2 separate regions of the Homo sapiens genome follow, and region 1 is linked to region 2. Evidence: promoter capture Hi-C in 16 types of primary human blood cells and fetal thymus (Javierre and others, 2016). All regions are on one chromosome and are shown on one strand. Each heading gives the region's core, a stretch centred on a gene start or on the middle of the fragment in contact. The rest is flanking DNA. Distances are from core to core; before and after follow the strand shown.

The links. Contacts are between HindIII fragments. The CHiCAGO score rates a contact against its expected background, and 5 or more counts as called.
Region 1: a contact is called between the fragment with the promoter of TBC1D9-AS1 here and the fragment with the promoter of MGST2 in region 2, in 9 of 17 cell types (monocytes, M1 macrophages, total B cells and 6 more). The highest score is 18.2, in monocytes.

Annotation. Positions count from the first base shown.
Region 1 is chr4:140,710,884-140,714,359 of GRCh38, reverse strand. TBC1D9-AS1 (TBC1D9 antisense RNA 1) reads right to left here and starts at 2,192. Exons shown (of 2, transcript XR_007058283.1): 1 at 2,077-2,192. All of the region lies in intron 1 of TBC1D9 (TBC1 domain family member 9), which reads left to right. The HindIII fragment of the contact is 8,622 bases long and covers 1-3,346 here.
Region 2 is chr4:139,663,918-139,667,142 of GRCh38, reverse strand. MGST2 (microsomal glutathione S-transferase 2) reads right to left here and starts at 1,324. Exons shown (of 5, transcript NM_002413.5): 1 at 1,066-1,324. The coding sequence starts at 1,123. RefSeq lists enhancers at 1,100-1,269, 566-1,765. The HindIII fragment of the contact is 3,780 bases long and covers 1-2,674 here.

The DNA of each region.
Region 1 (3,476 bases), core at 943-3,442, 1.0 Mb before region 2:
CCTTACATGTGTTGATTGATGTCTTATGTCCCTGTAAAACATATAAAACCAAGCTGCAACCCAGCCACCATGGGTACATGTTCTCAGGACCTCTTGAGACTGCCTCAGGCCTTGAACACTCATATTTGGCTCAGAATAAACCTCTTTAAATATTTTACAGAGCTTGACTCTTTTTTGCCAACAAGGGAAGTGGCTCATCTTTTCATCCTAGGCCACGTTTTAGCCTTGTGTGTTTGCACTAATCAAAGTCCCTGGTGAAAGGCTGCACAAGGTTGCCTTATTCTGTATCATCTTGCATTCACCTCTTCAGCCCCCCAGGCTAATATTATGCCAAGGGTTACCGATTCTGATTTTTGCCAGTGACCTTTACAGAAAGCAGCAGGAGCTGATTGGTTAAGTGGCTTCATCATTTACAAACTCTTATAGTAGGATCTTTAATGTTTCATTGATCCTATAGTATTAAAAACTGCAATTACTTTTGCACCAACCTAGTGGTTCATTATTTGATTATAATACATGTACATTGTACAAATTATAAAAGTACAATGTTTTATAGTGTATAGTTCCAATAGTATAGAAATTACTTTAAAAAATATAGTTTTTTTTTTTTAATTCTTTTTCAGAGATAGGGTCTCACTCTGTCTCCCAGGCTGAAGTGCAGGGTGTGGTCTTAACTCACTGCACCCTCTACCTCCTGGGCTCAAGTGATCCTCCTGCCTCAGTCTCCCAAGTAGCTGGAACTACAGGCATGCACCACTACACCTTGCTTAATTTTTAATATTTTTTTTGTAGAGACAAAGTCTTAATTATTGCCCAGGCTGTCTCAGACTCCTGGGCTCAAGTGGTCTTCCCACCTTGGCCTCCCAAAGTCCTGGGATTACAGTCCACTGTACCTGGCCTAAAAATATATTTCAAATAATAAAAAATGTTTCTGATTTCTGCCATATCAATCTCATTCCCAAGAGGTAACCATTATTAAGTTTAATATGCATCTTTCCTGGCATTTCCTTTGTTAATATAAGCACAGAGTGGCTGGTCTCCTGGGCTTTTTTCTTTGTCTTGCTTATATGTAGCTGAAGGCAACACCATGGGTACTTAGAGATTTAATGAATACTCAGTGGAAGGCCCATGAGGCGGCTCACACCTGTAATCCCAGTGCTTTGGGAGGCCAAAGTGGGAGGATCCCTTGAGCCCAGGAGTTGTAGACCAGCCTGGGCAACGTAATGAGACCCCCATTTCTATAAAAAAATTTAAAAATTAACCTCAAGACTCAGACCTTAGTTATAGATTAAAAGAAGTTAATCACCTATGTCTTTAGATGAATGCACACTTACATGTAGACATATAGCTTAGAAGGTATATAAGCTCTGGAAAACTGTAATTTTGAGTTGGTCTGGTGATAATTTCCAGGCCTTCTCCCTGTAACCGGTTGCAGAAATAAAAACTTTCTTCCTCCCCAGTTCATTTGCATCTCGTTATTAGGCCATGAGAAATAGCAGCCCGACCCTCAGTTTGTTCCGGAAACAATCATGCCACTGCATTCCAGCATGGGCAACAGAGCAGGATCCCATTTATCTATCTATCTATCTATCTATCTATCTATCTATCTATTTTTTTGAGATGGAGTCTCACTCTCTTGCCCGGGCTGGAGTACAATGGCGTGATCTCGGCTTCACTGCAACCTCCGCCTCCCGGGTTCAAGCAATTCTCCTGCCTCAGCCTCCTGAGTAGCTGGGACAACAGGCGCCCGCCACTACGCCTAGCTAATTTTTTGTATTTTTAGTAGAGATGGGCTTTCACCATGTTGGCTAGGCTGGTCTCGAACTCTTGACCTCGTGATTTGCCCGCCTGGGCCTCCCAAAGTGCTGGGATTACAGGCCTGAGCCACCGCACCTGGCATATATATATATTCTTTTTTTTTAAAGAGCATATTCAGAGAATACTTGATAAAAATGGTAAAATCAATTTGATTCATTTTGACACTGTAAACTTCCTGACTTGAGATAAACTAGTTATTAAACATCAAGTGCCTGCAACTGGAGTAAGGAATGTGATTCAGTGTGTATGAATACGTACCAGTTTGTAGCATTGATGAACTCCGTATACCAGAGGGAAAAAATGAACTTCAAAAAAAAATTTCTAAAATGTAAACGCCAGGTCCCTCTCCAAGGAAGTGTGTTTTTGAGGGAGCCTCTCATTTAGATATGGACTCTTAGCTAGCATGTTGCAACCTAGCAACAAGATTTCTAACCTGTGGTTATCTGTTGTGAAGTAGCAGCGTTAGTATAACCATGGTAACTGTCTGTTTGCTTGATGGCATGAGCTCTCTTTGAGTAAAAAAAGCCCAAAATAAAAGGTTGGAGGTAATTATATATTTTTTGTTTTCTCATCATAAATGTATTGAATGTACATTTGAGATATTTTTGAAAACACAGAAGACCATAAAATAGCAGAATTGTCATCTCACCTACTAATGTTAATATTCATATTTAGTTTTGTATTCTTTAAAATTAATACATGTATTGTAATTTGTAATATAGGTTATATTATACTTTTTTAGACAAATTGGGATCATACAGAATAGTAATTAGTTTTGTGCTGTTTTTCATATGCTAGGTGCATTTCACCATGTCATGAAATAATTACTTGAAGGTATGATTTTAAATGTCTACATATTATATCAATGTACTATAATTTATTTAGACATTGTAGGTCATTACCTAAATGTAATTTTGAATTCAGAATTATTTCTATTTCATATTATTTCGTTGCCAAGTTGTTCTTCAGCTTATCGATGCTCTCAATTATTGGCAGTTGAATTACGTAAGAGGATACATGAATTAGAAGAAGGGTTGACATCTCAGGACAGTGAGTGGCTTCTGCAAATGTGGCCTTCCTGAGAGAAGGGATCTGAGGGGTATTGCCCCCAGGTATCCAGGAGGGGATTGATATAGCTAATCTCTTAGAAACAGAGGTGGGCTTCATAGCGATGAACTCTTCCTACCACACCAAAAAGGCCCCTCCTTCCTACCTCTCAAGGTTGACCTTGGCTGACCTTGACCTTTGAGTTTTAGGTTTTCAGACCCGCCTCTACAGCCAAGATTAGAATCAATATAACTTCCTGTTGCACACAGAAGCAGCTGTAAATCTAAGACAATAGCATCCACTTTCCTATTACGGGACTTGAGGGGAAATTAAATTAAGCCCCCGCCTTTTGAGGGGCTTCTTTGAGGAATTAGATCACACAAGGCTTGGCGTAATTTTTTAATAACTTCAATCACATTGTCCTCACTGGTCCGTATCAGAGCAGATTTGAGTCCTGCACAAAGTCTGAAAGCAGCAAGCTTGTTCGTGGGGAAAGAATGAGCCAACACACTGCTGGGGTTTCAAGGCCAGCTTCCTAGGTATGCTTGTACACAGGAACCTACACTTAGAAAAGCGCTGGGCTTGGCTTAATATTCTACTGCTGCTGCCTT
Region 2 (3,225 bases), core at 75-2,574:
ACCTATTCCGGTTCCCCATGCCCAACTGTGAATCGTTCTTTGCTCAATTAAACTCAGTTAAATGTAATTTGTCTAGGGTTTTCCTTTTAACAGATCTAAGTGCTTCTTTAATTAGAAACAAATATCCTGCTCTTCTCCACAACAGATTGTGTGAATCAAACCACAAAACGTGAGTCTGAAGGTTCAAGATCTTCATACAATCTCAAAACAGACTGGCTAGGCAAGACATTGAGCATGCACGGAGGCCTGGACTGGATCCTCAGCTGTGAGGCCTTCCTGCTTCTGGCTGTTTGTGTAACCTGAGCAGTCTACGGCTTGGCCCTATTTCCTGGTACAGGCATACTTGGAAATATAAAGAAATATGCATGCTTGGTAAGAAGTCTTGCACTCTTGCACTCGGACCCCTTTCCCCAGCTGACATTGTAGGTAAGATAATATGAATTGAGCAAATGTGACTCCCATGGAGTAAAAGCCCTCTATTTAACCAGGCAGTCGAGATATTGAATAATCCTAGTGGGAAGCTGTTTTAAAATTTAGAGCTAATTACTTAATCTAAAGCTAATATTTCTGAAGGAAGTTTTTTTCAATCTGATAATCATACCACCATAGGCAGTTTATTTAAGAAAACACATTAATTAAAACATCAACGTTCAAGAAATCACAACCAGGTTTAGAAGCAGGCACGTTTCCTTTGGAACACTTGTAATTAATATTCACACCACTTCCTGCAGGTTAGCAGGCTACTAACGCTCGTTTGAACGGGCTGTGGGTCGTAATCACAGATGATGCAGAATCGCTGAGCTCTGAGGCCCCACAGCGTTCCAGTTGGGAGAACTAATCTCTGGAATGTTCTCAGTCTCTGCTTGCCCCTGGGAAGGAGGGTAGCAGGCGGCATGGGTGACCCTGAGGCGACTGTGCTCTGAGGACCCAGAGCTACCTGCAAGGGCAAGTAGGAAACAAAACACCGGACCCATCTCCCTCCCTCCCTCTCTCTCCCGCAAGCCTTGTCACACACACACACACACGCACACACGCGCACACACACGAACTTCCCATGCCTCTTACTTTGCTGACAGGCCGAGAGAATAGAGACAGCAGCCAGCAGGATCGAGTTCCCGGCCATCTTTCTCACGGAACTATTTGTAGAGCGCACGGGAAGATAAATGGCGCTTCTTGACTTTGAATGCTGACCTTCCTTATCGGGTAAACAAAGTTGGGGACCGGGTGGGGGGAAAAGGCTGATTCAAGCGGCTGAATGACCTTTGCTCTGGAACAGAAGTCAGGAAGGCAGGCAGGTCTGGGGCTGCCGGTCACAGATCTTTATGGGGCTGGGAGTTGCTTCCGGCGTTTGTTTTAAGCCTCTCCCACGGCCAGCGGGCAGGGCTGTAGCTCACTGTGGGACCAGCCCTCCAGCCGCAGTGCCAGTTACACTATCTTCTCTGCCAATGCACAGACTCTCTGGATCCCTTTCATCCCCACGCCCTTCCCTCCTAGGGCCTTGCTGAGACCTTTCTCACCTCCTGTGGAAAAAGTGAGAAGGAACTACTTACTTAATCCTGTTGACATTTTAAATGCTAATTTAAGCCAGTTCTAATGTATTCACGCTCTGAATGGCCGATTTAGGATTTGAACCCAGTCTAGCAGATTACAACTGTGCCCTATCCCCTGCACCAGGCTGCCTCTCACTGTCACCTAGAGACTCTGATAATAATCATACTTTTTTTTTTTAAGACAGGGTCTTGATCTGTCACCCAGGCTGGAGTGTGTGGTGGCACGATCATAGCTCACTGCAGCCTCCAACTCTTGGGCTTAAGTAATCCTCCTGCCTCAGCCTCCCAAGTAGCTAGAACTACAGCCACAAGTCACTGTGCCCAGCCATTTTTAAAAAAATAAACCGGCCGGGCGCGATGGCTCACACTTGTAATCCCAGCACTTTAAGAGGCCAAGGAGGGTGAATCACGAGGTCAGGAGATCAAGACTATCCTGGCTAACACAGTAAAACCCCTTCTCTACTAAAAATACAAAAAATCAGCTGGGCATGGTGGCACGAACCTGTAGTCCCAGCTACGCAGGAGGCTGAGGCAGGAGAATCTGCTCTTTAGAGATGCAGATTCTGGCCTGGAAGGATGGCTCATGCCTGTAATCCCAACAGTTTGGGAGGCTGAAATGGGCAGATGGTTTGAGCTCAGGAGTTCGAGACCAGCCTGGGTAACATGGCAAAACCCCATCTCTTAAAGAAATACAAAAATTAGCAGGGCATGGTGGCACGTGCCTGTAGTCCCAGCTACTTAGGGGGCTGAGGCAAGGGGATTGCTTGAACCCAGGAGCCTGAGACTGCAGTGAGCCAAGGTCGTTCCACTGCACTTCAGCCTGGGTGACAAAGTGAGACCCTGTCTCAAACAAATAATAAAAATAAAGATGCAGCTTCCCAAAAACCAGAGCTGGGGGCCTTTCCTCACCCCATCCTACAGCACCATTAGAGGGTATATCTTGGCTCAAGCTGCTATAACAAAGATACCATAGACTGGGTGGCTTACAATAGCAATTTATTCGTCACAGTCCTGAAGGCTGGGAAGTCCAAGATGACAGTGCTGGCCAATCAGTTCCTGGTGAGGGCCCTCTTCCTGGTTTGCAGAAGGACACCTTCATGTTGGAGACAGAGAAAGAGTAAGCTTCCTGGTCACTTCTTATAAGGGCACAGATCCCATTATGGGGGCCTATGCTCATAACCTCACCTGTAGCTAATTATCTGCCAAATGCCTGATAACATCACGTTGGGGGTTAGGGTCTCAACATATGAATTGCAGAGGGGACACAAACATTTAGTCCCTAGCAGGGAGCTCCCAGTGTCTTCTGGGGAGGGCAGTTGCCTCAGCCTCACACAGACCCTACAATTTAATAACACAACCTTGGGCCTCTCTGAGCCTCCATTTAATAAGATAGGGCTAATAAGAGCTGAAGAGAAGTTTAAATGACATAATCCTATTCTAAGGATTGAATTAGTTAATACTTATAGAGCACTTAAAACAGCACCTGGCATATACAAATGTGTTCTGTGTGTCTGCAAAATAAACACATAAAGTATCTAGACAAGTACTTAGCATATAATGTACCTAATGTTAAAAAATACTTTCAGAGGCAAAAATCATGCCTTTCATACAACATAAAATGAAAACATATCAAAATTTTTATGTAACTCATTCATGAGGGAACCAGTAAGATGTT